Regions from separate parts of the Homo sapiens genome. Here region 2 is linked to region 1. Evidence: promoter capture Hi-C in 16 types of primary human blood cells and fetal thymus (Javierre and others, 2016). All regions are on one chromosome and are shown on one strand. Each heading gives the region's core, a stretch centred on a gene start or on the middle of the fragment in contact. The rest is flanking DNA. Distances are from core to core; before and after follow the strand shown. Region 1 holds the start of PLEK (pleckstrin). Region 2 has its middle 35 kb from the start of DNAAF10.

Evidence for each region. The method cuts DNA at HindIII sites, captures the fragments that hold promoters and counts their contacts. A CHiCAGO score of 5 or more calls a contact.
Region 2: a contact is called between a fragment that was not itself captured here and the fragment with the promoter of PLEK in region 1, in 1 of 17 cell types (monocytes). The highest score is 6.2, in monocytes.

What each region holds. Positions count from the first base shown.
Region 1 is chr2:68,361,631-68,367,205 of GRCh38, forward strand. PLEK (pleckstrin) reads left to right here and starts at 3,652. Exons shown (of 9, transcript NM_002664.3): 1 at 3,652-3,763. The coding sequence starts at 3,722. It overlaps LOC101927723 (a long non-coding RNA gene), which reads right to left and starts at 4,774. Exons shown (of 2, transcript NR_187652.1): 1 at 3,785-4,774; 2 at 1-829. RefSeq lists enhancers at 611-680, 3,612-3,691. The HindIII fragment of the contact is 25,233 bases long and covers 1-5,575 here.
Region 2 is chr2:68,120,387-68,125,434 of GRCh38, forward strand. It overlaps the pseudogene PPIAP64. Among named protein-coding and RNA genes, the nearest start is that of DNAAF10, 35 kb to the right of the region's middle. RefSeq lists enhancers at 553-712, 943-1,112, 1,123-1,202, 2,051-2,345. The HindIII fragment of the contact is 3,787 bases long and covers 465-4,251 here.

The DNA of each region.
Region 1 (5,575 bases), core at 2,402-4,901:
ACTTGCCCTTACAGCAATAAAATGTGCTACAAGAATAATGTTTCCAAGGTTATTGATCAAATGTGTACAGAAAGAGATGTTAAAAAGTCATTCTAGGCTGGGTGCGGTGGCTTACACCTGTAATCCCAGAACTTTGGGAGGCCAAGGCAGGCAGATCACCGGAGGTCAGGAGTTCAAGACCAGCCTGGCCAGCATGGTGAAACCTTGTCTCTACTAAAAATACAAAAATAGCCGGGCGTGGTGGCGTGTCCCTGTAATCCCAGCTACTTGGGAGGCTGAGGTGGGAGGATCACTTGAACCTGGGAGGTGGAGGTTGCAGTGAGCCAAGATCAGGCCATTGCACTCCAGCCTGGGCGACAGAGCAAGACTCTGTCTCAAAAAAAAGTCATTCTAGACACATATACATAAGATACTGGAGGAGGTTCTAATGATCTGATCTGGGAGAGGGATCTGACACAGCAGAAGAAAACTTGGTCAAACTCTGTTGAGAGAAGTCCTGAAAGGCGTCATTGATTCAGATAGTTCTCTTTACTGACCACTAGGTGTCGCTAAGTAGGCGCGATGACACGTGGCAGGAGGGGGAGGGGCAAAGGCGGCAGCATCCAGTCCATCAATGGCGATGTTCAGCAGATTCACAAATGCCGGAGGTTCCTTGGTGTCAAGACATTTTTACCCCTGCACCTATTCAGGCGCCTGGTACATACTAAACACTTAATACCATGTTTCTTGAAATGAATTATTCGGAACGCAGGGGGTGCTTTTACACCGGAGGCATCCAAAAATAATATGAGGTTTCTGAGTGAGGGTTCTTTAAAGCCTTCTGATCATGCTAGGACAAACAGTGAAGACATTCCAAATTAGAAGTCACTTGGTCAGTTAAACAAAAGGAGATATATTTAACTATGAAATCAGACTTGGTAAATCTAAGAGTGGTTTCCATTGACTATACAGACATAGCAAAATACTTGTTTGAGTGCAGATACAGAAAATTACCCTTTTATTTGTTCCTGTTTTGCTCAGGTGACATCAAACGTTGATCCCTCTACTCTCAGCCCCCAACACTTTATAACAATTTCTAATTAATTTTGGTGCAATGAGAAACTGAAAAGAAACCATCAACGATTTTAAGTAATGGATATTAGCATAAAATGAAAAGTGAGAAATACAGGGGCAGTGACTGTTAGCTAGAAACACAGCTGGAGGGAAGAGGAGAGGGAATCAGGAAGCTCTCAGAAAACCCCAAGAACAGAACTTCTTCTTTCCCCTAACTTTCCTGGCTCCTCAGATGCCCTCGTGGACGTCTGTCAGTTTTGCCTTTCTCGGAGCCATCGCTCATCTATTGTTAATAGCATCTTGATTTTACTTTAGGGGACACCTCCCTTCTCCCATTGAGCATGGTCCTGCTGGGGCTGTCGGTTCACATGTTCCCCCTTCAGATACCGGAGAGAGAAGCACTAGGCCAAGTTAGGCCAATCAGAGGCCTGATCCCTGGAGACTACTGCAGAGTCTGAAAACCACTGGCATTCTTTCATCTTGGTGTCTTGCTTCCTGGAACCCCACAACTGCCCTGATTCCTGTCCTTTCAAAGACCCCAGTCTTCATTTTTCCTGCAGTCTGTGGGCCACTCCATTCTCTTCCAGTAAATTCCTATTTGCCTCTATTAGCCAGAGTTGTTATCTGTTGATTGCAGTGAAAGAACACTGACGGGTGTAATGAGGAAAATCTAGTCCTACGATTGCTTTCATCATCTCTGTTGAACTTATCATTGAAAAGGATCAGCTCTAGGATAACGGAGATTTGCCTTGAAGATGAAGAACAACTAATATTTATGGATACTAGTTATGTTTCAGACACTCTTCTAAATACTTCCATGTCTATCTCATTTAATCTTCAGAATGACCTCATTGGATAGGTGTTATTATCCCCGTATTACAGATGAGAAAACTGAGGCACAAAGTAATAACAAACTTGCTCATTTTCACATGGTCAGATTAACGGGTCTCTAAGTTTATTCTATGGAATATTCGTTTTTCAGGATTATATTGGTTTCCTGGGGCTGCCATAACAAAGTACCACAAACTGGTGGCTTAAAACAATGGAAATTTATTGTCTTACAGTTCTGGAGGCCGTAAGTCTGAAATCAAGGTGTCGTCAGCACCATGTTCTCTATAGCAACTCTAGGAGAGAATTGTTGCGTGCCTCTTCCAGCTTCTGGGGGTTGCTGGCCATCCTTGGCGTTCCTTGGCTTGTAAATGCATCACTCTGTTGTCACATGGCTGTTTTCTGTGTGCCCTTTTCTTATAAGGACACCAGTCACATTGGATTAAGGGCCCACTTGTTTCAGTATGACCTCATCTTAACTAATTATATCTACAATGACCCTATTTCCAAATAAGGATGCATTCTGAAGTGCTAAGGGTTAGGACTTCTTTTTTGGGAGATCTAATTCAATTTATGACAAAAAAAGTTAACATAAATTGTTCAAAAAAGAATGCTATGGCGAAGTAAGTTTGGAAAACACCATTATAGGATTCTTTACTGTAGTACTTTGGCGGGGCGAAGGTCTTTAATTTGTTCATCATTTAGAGGAGTTGCCAACCTGGGATTATTTTGTAAAGTTTCTCAAAAACCTGTTTGATGATGGACTTCTTTTTACAGGCTGACTGTGAGATCAGCACTCAACGTGGAACACCTGTTCTCATGCCTGATGTGAGGCAGTGGCACCCTAGCACATCCCTCCCTGGTTCTTCTGCTTTCCCCTGTGACCTGCAGCGTCAACTTGAGACAACTTTTCTTCTCTGAGCCTGAGTTTCCTTACTCTAAGATAAGGAAAATAATATACTTTCCCTATGGGTTTGATGTGTGGACTCATTTTTGTTGTTGTTTGTTTTGAGATGAAGTCTTTCTCTGTCGCCCAGGCTGGAGTGCAGTGGACCAATCTCGGCTCACTGCAACCTCCGCCTCCCAGGTTCAAGTGATTCTGCTGCCTCAGCCTCCCGAGTAGCTGGGACTACAGGCACACGCCACCATGCCCGGCTAATTTTTGTATTTTTAGTAGAGACAAGGTTTCACCATGTTGGCCAGGCTGGTCTTGAACTCCTGACCCCAGGTGATCCATCTGCCTTGGCCTCCCAAAGTGCTGGGAGTACAGGCGTGAGCTACCATGCCTGGCCGATGTGCAGACTAATTTAGTTTAAAATAAGTAGGCTGAGAAACACTTGATACAGGGCTTGGCATAGAGAGAAGTAGGCATTCATTTAGTAGTTAACTTTGTTATGCTAACCAGATGGTTCTGAATTTCTTGGCATTTTTATTGGGCATTTCCAGGATCTCAAGAATAATCCTTACTCAGGACAATTTTCACCAACAAGTTTTTCTTGTTCATCTTCCTCTTCCTTTCATCACTTCTTTTTCTCTTTAAAAGAGGGATTTTCTGTATGGTAGTAAGAATTTCCCTTAGGTAAATATTCAACCCAACTGTGGTTTTAATAAGTCTCCAGCATTAGCAAGGAATGGGTGGTTTACTCTGCAGTTCCTTATTCTGATCTTCCAACCCAGTGAGGGGAAGAGGATGTGATCATGCGACCGCCAGCAGAAGGGAAATTGTGAAAGCGACCTGCTGTAGAAAAGGCGGCCCACAGCCACCTCAGCATGCAGAGGAGGCCCAGCTGCTGAGAGGAGTTGCCTGAGAGTGACCTTTGCATCTGCCTGTCCAGCCAGCATGGAACCAAAGCGGATCAGAGAGGGCTACCTTGTGAAGAAGGTGAGCGAAGGTGCCACTTACCAGGGTGTCAGTGGACATGGGCTGGGGAGACTTGGGTTCAGCTCCACCGGCTACCTGCTCATCTTAGGAATGTTTCCTGTTCAACCAGTTGGGTTGAAATAGGGGAGCGTGGTAGCACATAGAATGTTGGAGTGGGGTTAGGGGAGTGGGGATACTCATCCAGCCCCGGCTTCCTTACAGTTTGATATTACGGGTCTGAGAATTCCAGATGGCAGGGCCTGGAAGGTGGGGATCTAAGCTAACTCCCTCCAGATTTAGAATATCCTTTTTAAGAGGCACACAGATGTGTTCTGTCAGAAGATATACTCCTCTTCTATGGAGGTTTCTTGGAGGGACTATTCATTTTTTATTTAAATTCCACTTCCCCTCAGTTCTTTTTTTGGGAGGCAAGGGGAAAAAAGTGATTAAAGAGTTGATATAATGATAGAGTAATTACGGCTTATTTCTTGGGCCATCTTCTTGGAATTGACACGTTTAAAAAAAACCTTATCTTTTTTTAATTGGGCTGAAATCTCTTCACTCACAATTCTTAGTAAATTTGCATAATGTGGCATCGAGGTGGTAGATGCACCATTTTAAAGATTAGGGTACTGAAAAAGGCTTAGCCTCCCTGGTGTGCATCATGAAAATTGAATTTTCTTAGTGCTGTTTGTCTTTCTTCGGATGCTGAGTGTGTGCTGTGTGGTTGTGAAAGCTCCCCGGGATGTGAATTCACACATAGGACTTGGTGTCCTGTGGGCAACACCTATATACACAGATATGCTCACACTAACCTTAGTGAGTGGATTGTTTCAGAAATGAGCTGAACGTAGTGCCTTCCTTCAGGTGCTTAGCTTTTTAGTTGAATGAACAGTGAATGTGAGTCTGTTTTAGGCTACTCATTTGTTTCACGTTTTAACCTACAATGTTCTACCTGTAAGGGGGGTTAAATAGCACACATTGCTGCCTGCTTCCATTTTGACTTCAGGCTGGAGGGACCCTAGGTCATCTGGCCTAATTCCTTCATTTGCAGAAGAGGAGACAGACCCAGAAGGCTCGGTGATTGCCCCAAGTCACATGGCTATGACAGTTGTGACCAGCCACTCCTTCTCTGATGCTTAGGTTTCTGATTCATGGCACTGAACTTTGTTCATTACTCCAGCATTTTCTTAAAGCAGATTTATTCCAAGTTAGGATTTGTAGTGTATTTGTGATGGTGAGAGCTATGAGTTGGTACTGGAGAATAAGTGGGCCCTCAGCTGCTAATCTCTGTAGCCAGCTGTGCTTCGAAACATCCTTTGGAAAAGACACACTTATACATAGAAGTGTAAAAGATTACTTGCAATAGGCACCAATAATAATTGGCGAGACCTGGTAATAATTAATATTGACTTATTCCTTTCCTGATCACTTGTGCTAGTATCCTGAGAAGAGCAAGTGAATAGGAACATTTCTGCAAGTTTTTGTTTGTTTTTTTAAACAATTAAAAACATCTTGCAATGAAAATTGCTGTTATAAAGTTTGTATGCTCATATTTTAATCTCCCTAAATTACAAAAATATGAAGACTAAATTTCTAATAAGTGAAGCTGTCTCACTAAAAATTGGGGATGATAGAGTCAGGGTTGTCAAGCATGTGGATTTAAATTAATAAATAGTTTTTAATTAGTGAGAGTAGTTCTCTCAGATTGTAAAAGCCAATCTAGAAAATGTGCCTGGAATTAAATAGTGAAATTTTGTATTGATAGTTTTACAATTTATATCTTCCATAATTTTCATGTTTACAAGTTACATCTTCCATAATTACTGCATT
Region 2 (5,048 bases), core at 1,108-3,607, 240 kb before region 1:
CATCTTTATAAATGTGATCCTGATCAAGACTCTAGAGACAGGCCACTGGTTTCCCTCCAAGTTTACTCCTCATTCACTGTCTTTCTTTCTTTCTTTTTTTTTTTTTTTGGAGATGGAGTCTCACTCTGTCACCCAGGCTGGAGTGCAGTGGCGTGATCTCAGCTCACTGCAACCTCTGCCTCCCAGGTTCAAGCGATTCTCCTGCCTCAGCCTCCTAAGTAGCTGGGACTACAGGTGCATGCCACCACATGCAGCTAATTTTTTGTATTTTAATAGAGATGGGGTTTCACCATGTTGGCCAGGCTGGTCTCAAACTTCTGGCCTCAATTGATCCACCTGCCTTGGCCTCCCAAAGTGATGGGATTACAGGTGTGAGCCACCTCGCCTGGCATATACTGCTTTCTTTAGCTTCCATAGCCTCAACCGAGAGCAAGAGAATAAGGCTTCTGACATTCTTCCTAGGAAGCTTTACGGAACAGATTGGAAAATTCACAACAAGCCCTAAGTGGCCCATAGTGGATTAGTGGGGACTGTGGCCGTCAGGACTCCCCCTTAGCTGAGGCTTCTGTGTCTTCTGTGTCTGCTTTCTTAGGGCCCTTTAGCCTGTGAGCTCTTAGGAATGCAGGAAGACCCTCTCTTTCCCCCTGGGTGGTAACAAAATTTCCCCTGGTCCATCATTCCTGAGCCCTAGTTCAGTCTGTGTGCGGCCAGGTCAGCGCTCAATAGGGTTCCAAACCTGTTGGCTGCAAGCACAGACTCCCTCTGAGTGTGAATGTTATCTCTCACCAGATGAGGGATGTGCTCAGCCCAGATCAAACACTTGTTTATCTACAGGGTGGTGAGAGCCAAAACTCTGCTTCTGTTTCTCCCTGGTGGTTTATTTGCTTACCCTTATCACCTCTGAGCAGTGGTGTTGTTTGCATAGAGTTCTCGGTTTCTGGCATGTTAAATTTAGAGGTACCCCAGGCTTCTCGGAGGGATCAGAGTGTTGAGCAACTCCTCAGGGAGGTGCAGGAGAATATCACTGGATGAGGGGTCAGGAGATGAGGGCCTGGGTCTGTCTTCAAATGCAGAAATTGAGTGCAGAGGTCTCAAAGGCCTCTTCTGGCACTGACGTTCTGACTGGCCATGAAAGCCTTGGGTGTCATAAAGAAGAAAAGTTGAAGACTTAAAAGGAGGAAGTGTGAGTGTCTTCAGCCTCCGGTGTGAGGGAGAACTGTGAGTCTCTTTTGACCACAGTTTATTTTGTGTTGCTTCTTTTAGCTGCATGGTCCATACGCCAAAGGTGGGCAGGTGGAGGGCTGCTACTCACTAACTTGGTAGTGCAGAAATGGCTTTTAAAAACAGTGGCTATATGGCTGCGCACGGTGGTTCATGCCTGTAATCCCAGCACTTTGGGAGGCCGAGGCAGGCGGATCACTCGAGGTCAGGAGTTCGAGACCAGCCTGATCAACATGGAGAAACCCCGTCTCTACTAAAAATACAAAAATTAGCCGGGCGTGGTGGTGGGCGCCTGTAATCTCAGCTACTTGGGAGGCTGAGTCAGGAGAATCGCTTGAACCCAGGAGGCGGAGGTTGCAGTGAGCTGAGATCGTGCCATTGCACTCCAGCCTGGGCAACAAGAGCAAAACTCTGTCTCAAACAAAACAAAACAAAACAAAACATTGGATCTGGTGCAAAGAAGATGGAGAGAAATTCTAGAATTCCTGCAGGAAGTTAAGTGATGGTATAAAGAAGTCCTTACTCTGAGAAATGCTTCGTTAAAATCAGAATTTACAGAATAAACGGTTGGTAGGAGATAGAGGCATGTACTATTTACTTTACAAAATAATTCCTCACTTTATAAAAAGCCAAATATTTTCTCTTGGAAGTTAGCCTTGTGATGCTACCAGTAAGACTGAATCTATAATAAAGCTAATGATCCAACTTTTGGTTAAAAAACCCATTCTGTAAAAAGAAGCATAGGCATGCTATGCAGTGTTGTTATATACAAAGTGGGTTTTCTTCATAAACACAATCACATTTTTGGAAGACATTTCTGTAAGATAATGTCTTTCTCAAGGTCCAGTTTGGCTTGCGTGCCTCCTGGGAATTAAACAGGATAGATTTTTCCAGCTGCATTTGAAAGACAAATTCCGTTTCCTTGTGTTGAAAGGTCTGCAATGCCCACATCTCCCACAAGGGGGCAGCGCACCACTGGGTCTTCAGGTACAAGGACGGCCTGGGATTCGGAACGTGCGGCTGAGGGGCCTCCTTCCCAGGGGAAGAAAATCCACTGAAAGTCGTGAAGAGGCGGACCTTATGTACCACGACATAATTGAATTTCATATCTCACGAACCCTGCGTATTTGCCAGAAACTTTCGGGCTGTTCTCATTCAGAAAAGGATGAAATCATTTTGTGTGTTGGATAGTCCTTAGACATTCCCAGAAAAAAAATTATTTTTCATGTATATATGCAAAGTGTATCCAGCTAAATCACAAGCAAAAGTGACTTTAAGCAGGTACCAAGACACGCCGGATCATAAAGACACTGTTCTCCCTTCAAGTTCCTTTGGTGAGTTTATGGACACGCATGAGGTAAGCTGCGCCGTTCATGTTCTACTGCGCGTGACTTTGTACTGCCCCTGAGTGGAAAAGGTATTTGGGATTCGAAAGAAGTTATTATTAAGTACAAACAAATTCCCAAGAAAAGAAATGTAGTATGAAGATCAATTTGAGTGTGTAGGGGGAGTTTTCCTTTCCTGTTTTTGTACTGGGCTGGGCTTGCATTGGTGCACATAAAGGATAATAAAAGTAACTTAAAAAACCAAGGGATTCCATGGTGTCTGGTTTACAAGAGCTGATGGAGAAGATACAATTGCCAAAAGGGAGTATTGGGTGCCAAGACCCAGATCTGGCCTAAGGAAGCACGCATTGGTAGCGCCCTAGTTTTCACCTCATGGGAGGACGCAGCCAGGGAGGCCGTGCTTGACGGCTCTGTCAGGGCGGCAGAATCCAGTTACACCTCCCAACATCCATTTCCCTACTTCCTCAGGACCAGAACTCCCAAATGGTAGCCGGGTATAACACTGCACACAATCAGGTTTATGCTTCTCGGTCTCACTGTGATAGGTGAGACCGAGACACAGGACCAAATCATCACCAATGGATACAAGCAAAAGTGCTCTTCAAAGTGCAAGATGTTCTTTTTCTTACTTTTCCTACTTTTCTGATGTCTGGAATGTGGATGTGATGGTTCAACTGGAACAGGCACACTGGATAATGCGTAATCTTTATTTTGGGTTTTCAGTTACCCGCAGCTGAACCTAACCCTAATCAACAACAATGCCTTCAAAAAACAGGCCAGAGGTTAAGATGGACTTTTTTTTCCTAATTACTTGTTTTATCATTATTTTATCATTTTAATCACCCACCAACATTTGCTTTTATTTATTTATTTATTTTTGAGACAGGGTCTCTCATTTTCCCCAGGCTGGAGTGCAGTAACACAGTCACCACTCACTGCAGCTTCAACCTCCTTGGCTCAAGTGATCCTCCTGCCTCAGCCTCCCAAGCAGCTGGGACTATAAGCTGTGCTACCACACCCAGCTAATTTAAAAAAAAAATTTTCTGTAGAGACAGTGTCTCACTATGTTGCCCAGGCTGGTCTTGAACTCCTGGCCTCCCAAAGTGCTAGGATTACAAGCGTAAGCCACTGCGCCTGGCCCAACATTTATTAAATGTTGTATTAAGGGGCCAGGGGCAGTGGCTCATGCCTATAATCCCAGCACTTTGGGAGGCCGAGGCAGGCAGATCACTTGAGGTGAGGAGTTTGAGACCAGCCTGGCCAACATGGCGAAACCCCATCCCTACTAAAAATAAAAAAAATTAACTGCGCGTGGTGGCACATGCCTGTAATCCCAGCTACTTGGGAGGCTGAGGTGGGAGAAGTGCTTGAACCCAGGAGGCGGAGGTTACAGTGAGCCAAGATCACGCCACTGCACTCTTCCTGGGTGACAGAGCAAGACTCAGTCTCAATTAAAATAAAAAAGTGTTGTATAAAGGGTATTGCTGAGTGATCTGGTTTTAAGTTGGCTTAGGGATAGAGTTGGATCAGAACACCATAAGCAAAGTTCAGTTGTTAAAGAATCCTTCATAAAATTCCTCCACCATGACTGTATAAATGCAGCTGTACTTGGTCACAGCCCTTTTACCTAGAATCTCATGCTTCAAGTTAAAAACACAAAGTCAAAATCCTGTTCCTTCATTCAAGCTTGATGTTTGATGTAAAATATACAAAACCTATGGACAACTGCATTAATGGCCATGCACTGTGAGGATAATCTGCATCTGCTTTCACTGTGCTGTCCTGATTAATAACCATTTTTCTGGTTCTGGGGTTGAGGACAAGGGTTTAGCCTCTAGATCCCTACACAGTAACAAAGATTCACAGTTTTCATACTGCCATTTGTCCATCCTAGACCCAGTAGGGAAAATGGATGAGTAAAGAATTTCTCACCACTCCAGGCAATATGCAGGTACTTAGGGTGGAATAATAGAGGACATTGTCCTAGCAGCCCTGAGTCCTCAGCTGGTTGGACAATGCACAGGACTTCTGTTAGCAGGTCCTGATAAGTCTGAGTGCAGCATGGGCCCAGTGCCCCCAAGCTCTCAGAGCAGCATTAAGCCCCGTTTTATTGGGACTGCTGGGTATGGCCCTGAGAATGGCGCCTGGCAGTCTAGTCTCATCCAAAGCAGGGAGGTGGGGCTCCACAACACAGTGAGAGTGGCCAGACATTCGGAGATAGAGGTTTCCTGGGTAAGCATAACCAACCTGCCTTTTAAAAAAACATAGCTAGCAGATGCCAACGCCACCGGAAGCCCTGTACTACCAGCGTGGTCAACTCCACCGTGTTCTTAGAAATTGCCATCGACAGTGAGCCCTTGGGCCGCATCTCCATCAAGCTGTTTGCAGACAAGATTCCAAAGACAGCAGAAAACTTCTGTGCTCTGAGCACTGGAGAGAAAGGATTTGGGTATAAGGGTTCCTGCTTTCACACAATTATTC